Regions from separate parts of the Homo sapiens genome. Here region 1 is linked to region 2. Evidence: promoter capture Hi-C in human tissues and cell types (Jung and others, 2019). All regions are on one chromosome and are shown on one strand. The core of a region is centred on a gene start or on the middle of the fragment in contact, and the rest is flanking DNA. Distances in the headings are between cores, read along the strand shown.

The links. The method cuts DNA at HindIII sites, captures the fragments that hold promoters and counts their contacts. A contact is called where the count stands out against the background at its distance.
Region 1: a contact is called between a fragment that was not itself captured here and the fragment with the promoter of GLE1 in region 2, in 2 of the 25 tissues and cell types used here (dorsolateral prefrontal cortex and heart right ventricle).

What each region holds. Positions count from the first base shown.
Region 1 is chr9:128,691,459-128,694,615 of GRCh38, forward strand. SET (SET nuclear proto-oncogene) reads left to right here. Exons shown (of 8, transcript NM_003011.4): 3 at 400-542; 4 at 1,204-1,307; 5 at 1,410-1,523; 6 at 2,180-2,350; 7 at 2,438-2,584. Among named protein-coding and RNA genes, the nearest start is that of SET, 3.8 kb to the left of the region's middle. The HindIII fragment of the contact is 6,023 bases long and covers 1-3,157 here.
Region 2 is chr9:128,503,130-128,506,476 of GRCh38, forward strand. GLE1 (GLE1 RNA export mediator) reads left to right here and starts at 1,590. Exons shown (of 16, transcript NM_001003722.2): 1 at 1,590-1,775. The coding sequence starts at 1,677. RefSeq lists a silencer at 1,401-1,610 and an enhancer at 1,831-1,990. The HindIII fragment of the contact is 8,169 bases long and covers 1-3,347 here.

The DNA of each region.
Region 1 (3,157 bases), core at 658-3,157, 190 kb after region 2:
TGAATTGCAGTGTAGGTCTTCTGATGGTTTAGCAGTGTGGCATCAGTGGTTGCTCTAACTTGCCTTACAACTTTGTTATGGATTAGCCACTTTATTTAGAAATCGCGCTTGAGGGAAACAATTGAAATTGGACTGGAAATGGAGTGGGCGAAGTAAATACACACGTTACCAGAGTGTTGAGTTTGGGCACTCTTAACAGTCATTATTACTCAGTGTTTATTGATAAATCAGACAAAATTGCCATCTTAGTTTTGAGTGTCTAAATTAGGTGATAATGGTTATTATAATTTGGTTATTTTGCATGACTCAAGCTAGTAAGTAAATACACTCTGTAATCTCAACCAATTTTTTAATTTGTTAAATACTATCATTGTCAACATCTCTTTTCATTTGCTTCAGACTTAATGAACAAGCCAGTGAGGAGATTTTGAAAGTAGAACAGAAATATAACAAACTCCGCCAACCATTTTTTCAGAAGAGGTCAGAATTGATCGCCAAAATCCCAAATTTTTGGGTAACAACATTTGTCAACCATCCACAAGGTATGTTTTGGACAGGGCATTGTTAAAGGATAAACAGTGTTTGTTAGAATGGAGGAAGCTTGGTGAAGACTTAGTCCAGCATGCTGGGTTGCGTGCAACAAAGACAGGCTGGGTGCGGTGGCGCACCTGTAATCCCAGCACTTTGGGAGGCCGAGGTGGGTGGATCACTTGAGGTCAGGGGTTCGAAACCAGCTTGGCCAACAGGTTGAAACCCCGTCTCTACTAAAAATACAAAAAAAATTAGCTGGGCGTGGTGGCGCGCGCTTGTAATCCCAGCTACTCGCTACTTGGGAGGCTGAGGCAGGAGAATCGCTTGAACCCAGGAGGGGGAGGTTGCAGTGAGCCGAGATTGTGCGCTTTTGCATTCCAGCCTGGGCGACAAGAGTGAGACTGTTTCAAAAAAAAAAAAAAAAAAAAAAAAACCTCAAAGACGGGAAAAGATATACAGCTACTGCTTTCTATTCTGTTTAGGAGAAGCTATATTCTAATTGCTTGATGAAAGATAGTGACAGTCTGATATTGAGCAATTGCCTTTAGTTAATAATGGGTTTATAAAACCAAAGATGCTCACTAAGTTCGGAAAAATTTTAAAGGGATCACTTAAATTGTTGTTAGTGTGTGCCTGTTGAAAATTCAGCTGACCTGTAATTTTCTGGCCTAGTGTCTGCACTGCTTGGGGAGGAAGATGAAGAGGCACTGCATTATTTGACCAGAGTTGAAGTGACAGAATTTGAAGATATTAAATCAGGTTACAGAATAGATTTTGTAAGTATCTCTAACTTAATCTTGTTTGCCACTGTGGAAATTAATGTGAGCTTTGGTTGGAAGACCTGTTCATATTTCTAATCTTTCAATTATTTATTACAGTATTTTGATGAAAATCCTTACTTTGAAAATAAAGTTCTCTCCAAAGAATTTCATCTGAATGAGAGTGGTGATCCATCTTCGAAGTCCACCGAAATCAAATGGAAATCTGGAAAGGTATGTTTTGAGGAATTATTTGACAAAAATAGCATTTTGCCTATTTCAGTTTAGTTTTAACCACTTACAAGTGCTTGATACTTTGGTCATGTGGCTAAATACAAAACCTTAAAATATAAAACGTTCCAGTGTGCTGAAGCCAAGTATTACAGTAGTTTAGGGTTCTCATTAGATACTACAGATGTAGGCAGGAAGATCTCTTGAGCCTAGGAGTTTACCCTGGGCAACATAGACCCTTACCTTCCAAAAAACAAAAAAAAAGAGAAAAATCTAGCCCAAGTTTAAGAATTGAGAACTGGACTAAATTTTTTGTTGCTGTTGTTTTCTGCAGTGGTGACTGAGCTCTTCAAATGGCTTGCCATTTCTCAAAATCATTTACATCCGTATTTAGGTAGTAAGACATAGTTTAGATATTTATACTGTGTTGTGCTAGTGGCTGTTAACAGTGGAACTAATTTTATGGAAAACCAAATGTAGTTGATACTACCTCTACCTGCTGCACAGTTTTATAATTGCTCTTAGGTAATAATGGTAGCGTAGATAGTATACTGATATTTGTTTTGCTTAGCTTTTGGGGAAAATCTTATTTTTTAAATTATAGGGAGTTTGGGTGTTATGGAGAGATTGTATCAAAAGCTCTTCCGGTATTCATTTAGGATTTGACGAAACGTTCGAGTCAAACGCAGAATAAAGCCAGCAGGAAGAGGCAGCATGAGGAACCAGAGAGCTTCTTTACCTGGTTTACTGACCATTCTGATGCAGGTGCTGATGAGTTAGGAGAGGTCATCAAAGATGATATTTGGCCAAACCCATTACAGTACTACTTGGTGAGTTCTAATACTCATTTATTCAAGGTTGGACTTGTCTCGGTTGTTTAAAAATGAGTCCTTATATTGTGCTTTTTTTTTTTTAAGGTTCCCGATATGGATGATGAAGAAGGAGAAGGAGAAGAAGATGATGATGATGATGAAGAGGAGGAAGGATTAGAAGATATTGACGAAGAAGGGGATGAGGATGAAGGTGAAGAAGATGAAGATGATGATGAAGGGGAGGAAGGAGAGGTAAAAGAAAATTTGGCTAAACCCACAAAGATAACTTTTAAAGAATTCATGTTATTTTGGGGTGTATATATATATATATAGTGTGGTAGAACTGACCAGAACTGATTGTGGAAAAAAAGTAAGCCATTTTGTTGTTCAAGAATTAAGGAAATGTTTGATAAGCACATGGTACTAATGTTTAACTAGGTTTTTTTTGGTTTTTTTTTGGGTTTTTTTGGTTAGACTTATCACCACCCAAGCTTGTTTTTCCCTAGCCAGTACTTAGGCAATATAGGCAGTGTAGCTGGTCAAATTCTGACATCTCTGAAATAACAAAGTTTCATGTATTTTCGACAAACTGCACAATTTCTGAATAGTCAAATTAGGATAGGTTGGTTTTATTTCGGATTATTTGATCCGAAATATACCTGATTTGGTTAGAACTGAAGTTACTAATTAATCTGAAGCAACATCATCACGGGTGTTTCCTTCGATGCAGCTGACTTACAGGTTTAGAAACTGGAGTGCCCCCAGGGGCACTCGTGGGGTCCATTGTGGTCCATATGAAAGCAAGTCTCAGCATTAATCCTGAAG
Region 2 (3,347 bases), core at 340-2,839:
TCAGCCTGTGGGGACTATAGGTGCATGGCACTTTGCCTGGCTAATTTTTGTATTTTTTGTAGAGACAGGGTTTTGCCATGTTGCCCAGGCTTGTCTGAAACTCCTGACCTCAGGTGATCTGCCCACCTTGGCCTTCCAAAGTGCTGGGATTACGGCACCCAGCCAACCAATTTCATCACTCCCAAAAAAGAAACGCCATACCCATTAGCAGTCACTCCCCATTCCCCTCCCCCAGCCCCTGGCAACTAGTCATAAAGTTTCTCTGGCTCTATAGATTTGTCTCTTCTGGATATTTCACATAAGTGGAATTGTCCAACATGTGGCCATTCATGACTGGCTTCTCTCAGCATAATGCTTTCAAGATTGATGTTGCAGCGTATCATCAGCACTTTATTTTTATGGCCCCATAACATTCCATTATATAGATGTGGTGTTTCCTCCTGCCAAACAGGGCTGGTTGGGATTCCAAAGAAGCACTATGGCCGGGCGCAGTGGCTCATGCCTGTAATCCCAACGCTTTGGGAGGTCGAGGTGGGTGGATCAACTGAGGTCAGGAGTTCGAGACCAGCCTGACCAACATGGTGAAACCCCGCCTCTGCTAAAAATACAAAATAGCTGGGCGTGGTGGCTGGCGCGTGTAGTCCCAGCTACACGGGGAGCTGAGGCAGGAGAATCGCTTGAACCCGGGAGGCGGAGGTTGCAGTGAGCCGAGATCGAGCCACTGTACTCCAGCCTGGGGGACAGAGCAAGACTCTGTCTCAAAAAAGCAGCATTAAACCCAAAACATTTATTAGGGAAGCTTACAGAGTGGGCTGCAGCAATTCTCGCGACAGACAGAGAGAAGCGGTGTTTCACCTAGGTACATCCCCAGCGAGGGGTCAGGGTATGAAGTTTATATGAGGGTTTATGGAATTTGGCTAAAAGCAGGGGTCAGTTTCAGCGTTTTGGGCAATAACCTAGATATCCTTAGTGCCTAGGGATATGCAAGGCCCGTGTTTGGTTGCAAGTCTGCAGGAAAAAACTTGCAGCTGGCTGGGTCACAGGGCGGTCAAGGCACTCTGATACTTGGTCAGTGCACAGAAAGCGGGGGAACTCGGGAACCGCGCACATAGTACTATATTTTATTTATCCATTCACCAATGGATGGACGTTTGGGTTGCTTTCACTTTTTGGCTATTATGAATAACACTGCTGTGAACATTCATGGACAAGTTTTTATATATACATAGGTTTCATTTCTTTGGCGTATTTTATATATATATATATATTTACCTAGGAGAATTGCTGGGTCAAATGGTAATTGTTTAACCTTTTGAGGAACTGCCAGACTGTCTTCCACAGCAGGTGCTTCATTTTACAGTCCCATGAGCAGTGTATGAGGGTTCCAGTTTCTGCACAGTCTCAAGGCACAGACAAATTTTCAGCAGCCCCGGGGATTGGGAGCGGTGGTTACCTCTGCGGAACGTGCCCCGACAGCCAAGCCCTGCGCGCAGGCGCACTGGTGGGAGGGCGGGAACGCGGGAGCGTCGCCGGAGGTGGGGCGTGCAGGCGTTAGGGGCGGGGCTGTGCTGCGCGCGCGTCCCGGAAGCAGAAGCCTGTGTGGCCTTCCCGGCGGCTGATTCGAGGGCTTGTTTGGTCAGAAGGGGGGCGTCAGAGAAGCTGCCCCTTAGCCAACCATGCCGTCTGAGGGTCGCTGCTGGGAGACCTTGAAGGCCCTACGCAGTTCCGACAAAGGTCGCCTTTGCTACTACCGCGACTGGCTGCTGCGGCGCGAGGTGAGCGGTGGCCCCGGAGGACGTAGGCCTTTCCGGCCCCTCGCGACCGAAACCTTCTCCCTAGCCGTTGGCACGTTCTGCTCCCGGGAACCCGTGCAGTCTAACAACCTGCATTTATTTCTTGACTTCTGTGTGTACATCCCTCTGTCCTGGGGTTTCTGTCCTCTTCAGCCTATTTTAGCGTTTCGGGGAGCTCCCCTGACTTCACAGGTGCCCCGCGCTCTGAAGGCTTCATTGCTACCCTCCGCCAGTTGGGCGCCTTCTCCGTTCTGCTGTTGTCAAAGCAATCTCGGCCCCAGGTTCAGTTAACTTACTGTATGTCTCATGTGCTGGGAGCTCTAGAGTTTGCGACGAACGATTGACACGACCTAATCCATTGCTACTAGTGAAATGACCAAATTTTTAGATTGATTTGGCAGACCTGGAAAGTGAATGGGGGCGTGGTCACCGTACCTAGCATTTGCAAAGCTCTGCGCGAGAAGTGGAGGGATGTGGAGAGTTAAGGCCGAGCTCCCATTCCCGAGTCGCTGCTAGTTAGCTACAGATAAGGCGTTGTCCTGCATCCTCAGACTTCTTGGGAAACAATCCTAAAGTATTTCCCTGTCTTTTATGTTGTTGACAGTTTTGAAAAATACAGACCTTACATTCTGTAGGTTGACTGCCAGCATATGTGCTTTCAAACCACCAGACCAAGGTTAAGCATTCTTGGCAGGAATACCACAGAAATGATGCCATGGCTTTCTCAGTAAGTCACATGAGGAGGCACACAGATGTCAACCCATCCCAACACTGGTGATGCTAATCTTGATCACCTGGTTACGTTATTATCTGCCTGGTCTCTCCGTTTAAAATTCGTCATTTTTCCCTTAGTAATTGTTGGGAAGTAATAATACCAGTATCCTTTTTTCTGGGCAAACCTTAATCCTCCATGGCTTTAGCATTCATTGATGTTTTCCACATGAATCGATACCTCTATGACGTTGCCAGATCCTGTTTCTTTATATCCGCTATTCCTTCTGCATTTGTTAGTTGGCATTCTACTGTAAGGAGGTGCTTTCTATTTTATTCAGTGAGTTGTAATCCATTACTTTTATTATTTATTTATTTTATTTTAAATGTCCCAGATTTTGTAAGCTTGTATCAAAATAATCACATGCAAGGCTAGGCGTGGTGGCTCAGGCCCGTAATCCCAGCACGTTGGGAGGCCGAGGGGGACGGATCACTTGAGGTCAAGAGTTCGCGACCAGCCTGGCCAACATGGTGAAACCGCATCTCTACTAAAAATACAAAATTAGCCGAGCATGGTGGTGCATGCCTGTAATCCCAGCTACTCGGGAGACTGAGGCATGAGAATTGCTTGAACCCTGGAAGCAGAGGTTGCAGTGAGCCGAGATTGTGCTGCTGCACTCAAGCCTGGGTGACAGAGTGAGACTGTGTCTCAAAAAAAAAAATGTAGCCTTGTAAATATGTACAACAATTATGTATTCATAAGAATTAAAAAGAAAAATGTCCCAGATTTGGCTACTGGGCACCTCATTAAGTTGGTTCCTGTGTTCCTGTGACATATTTCCA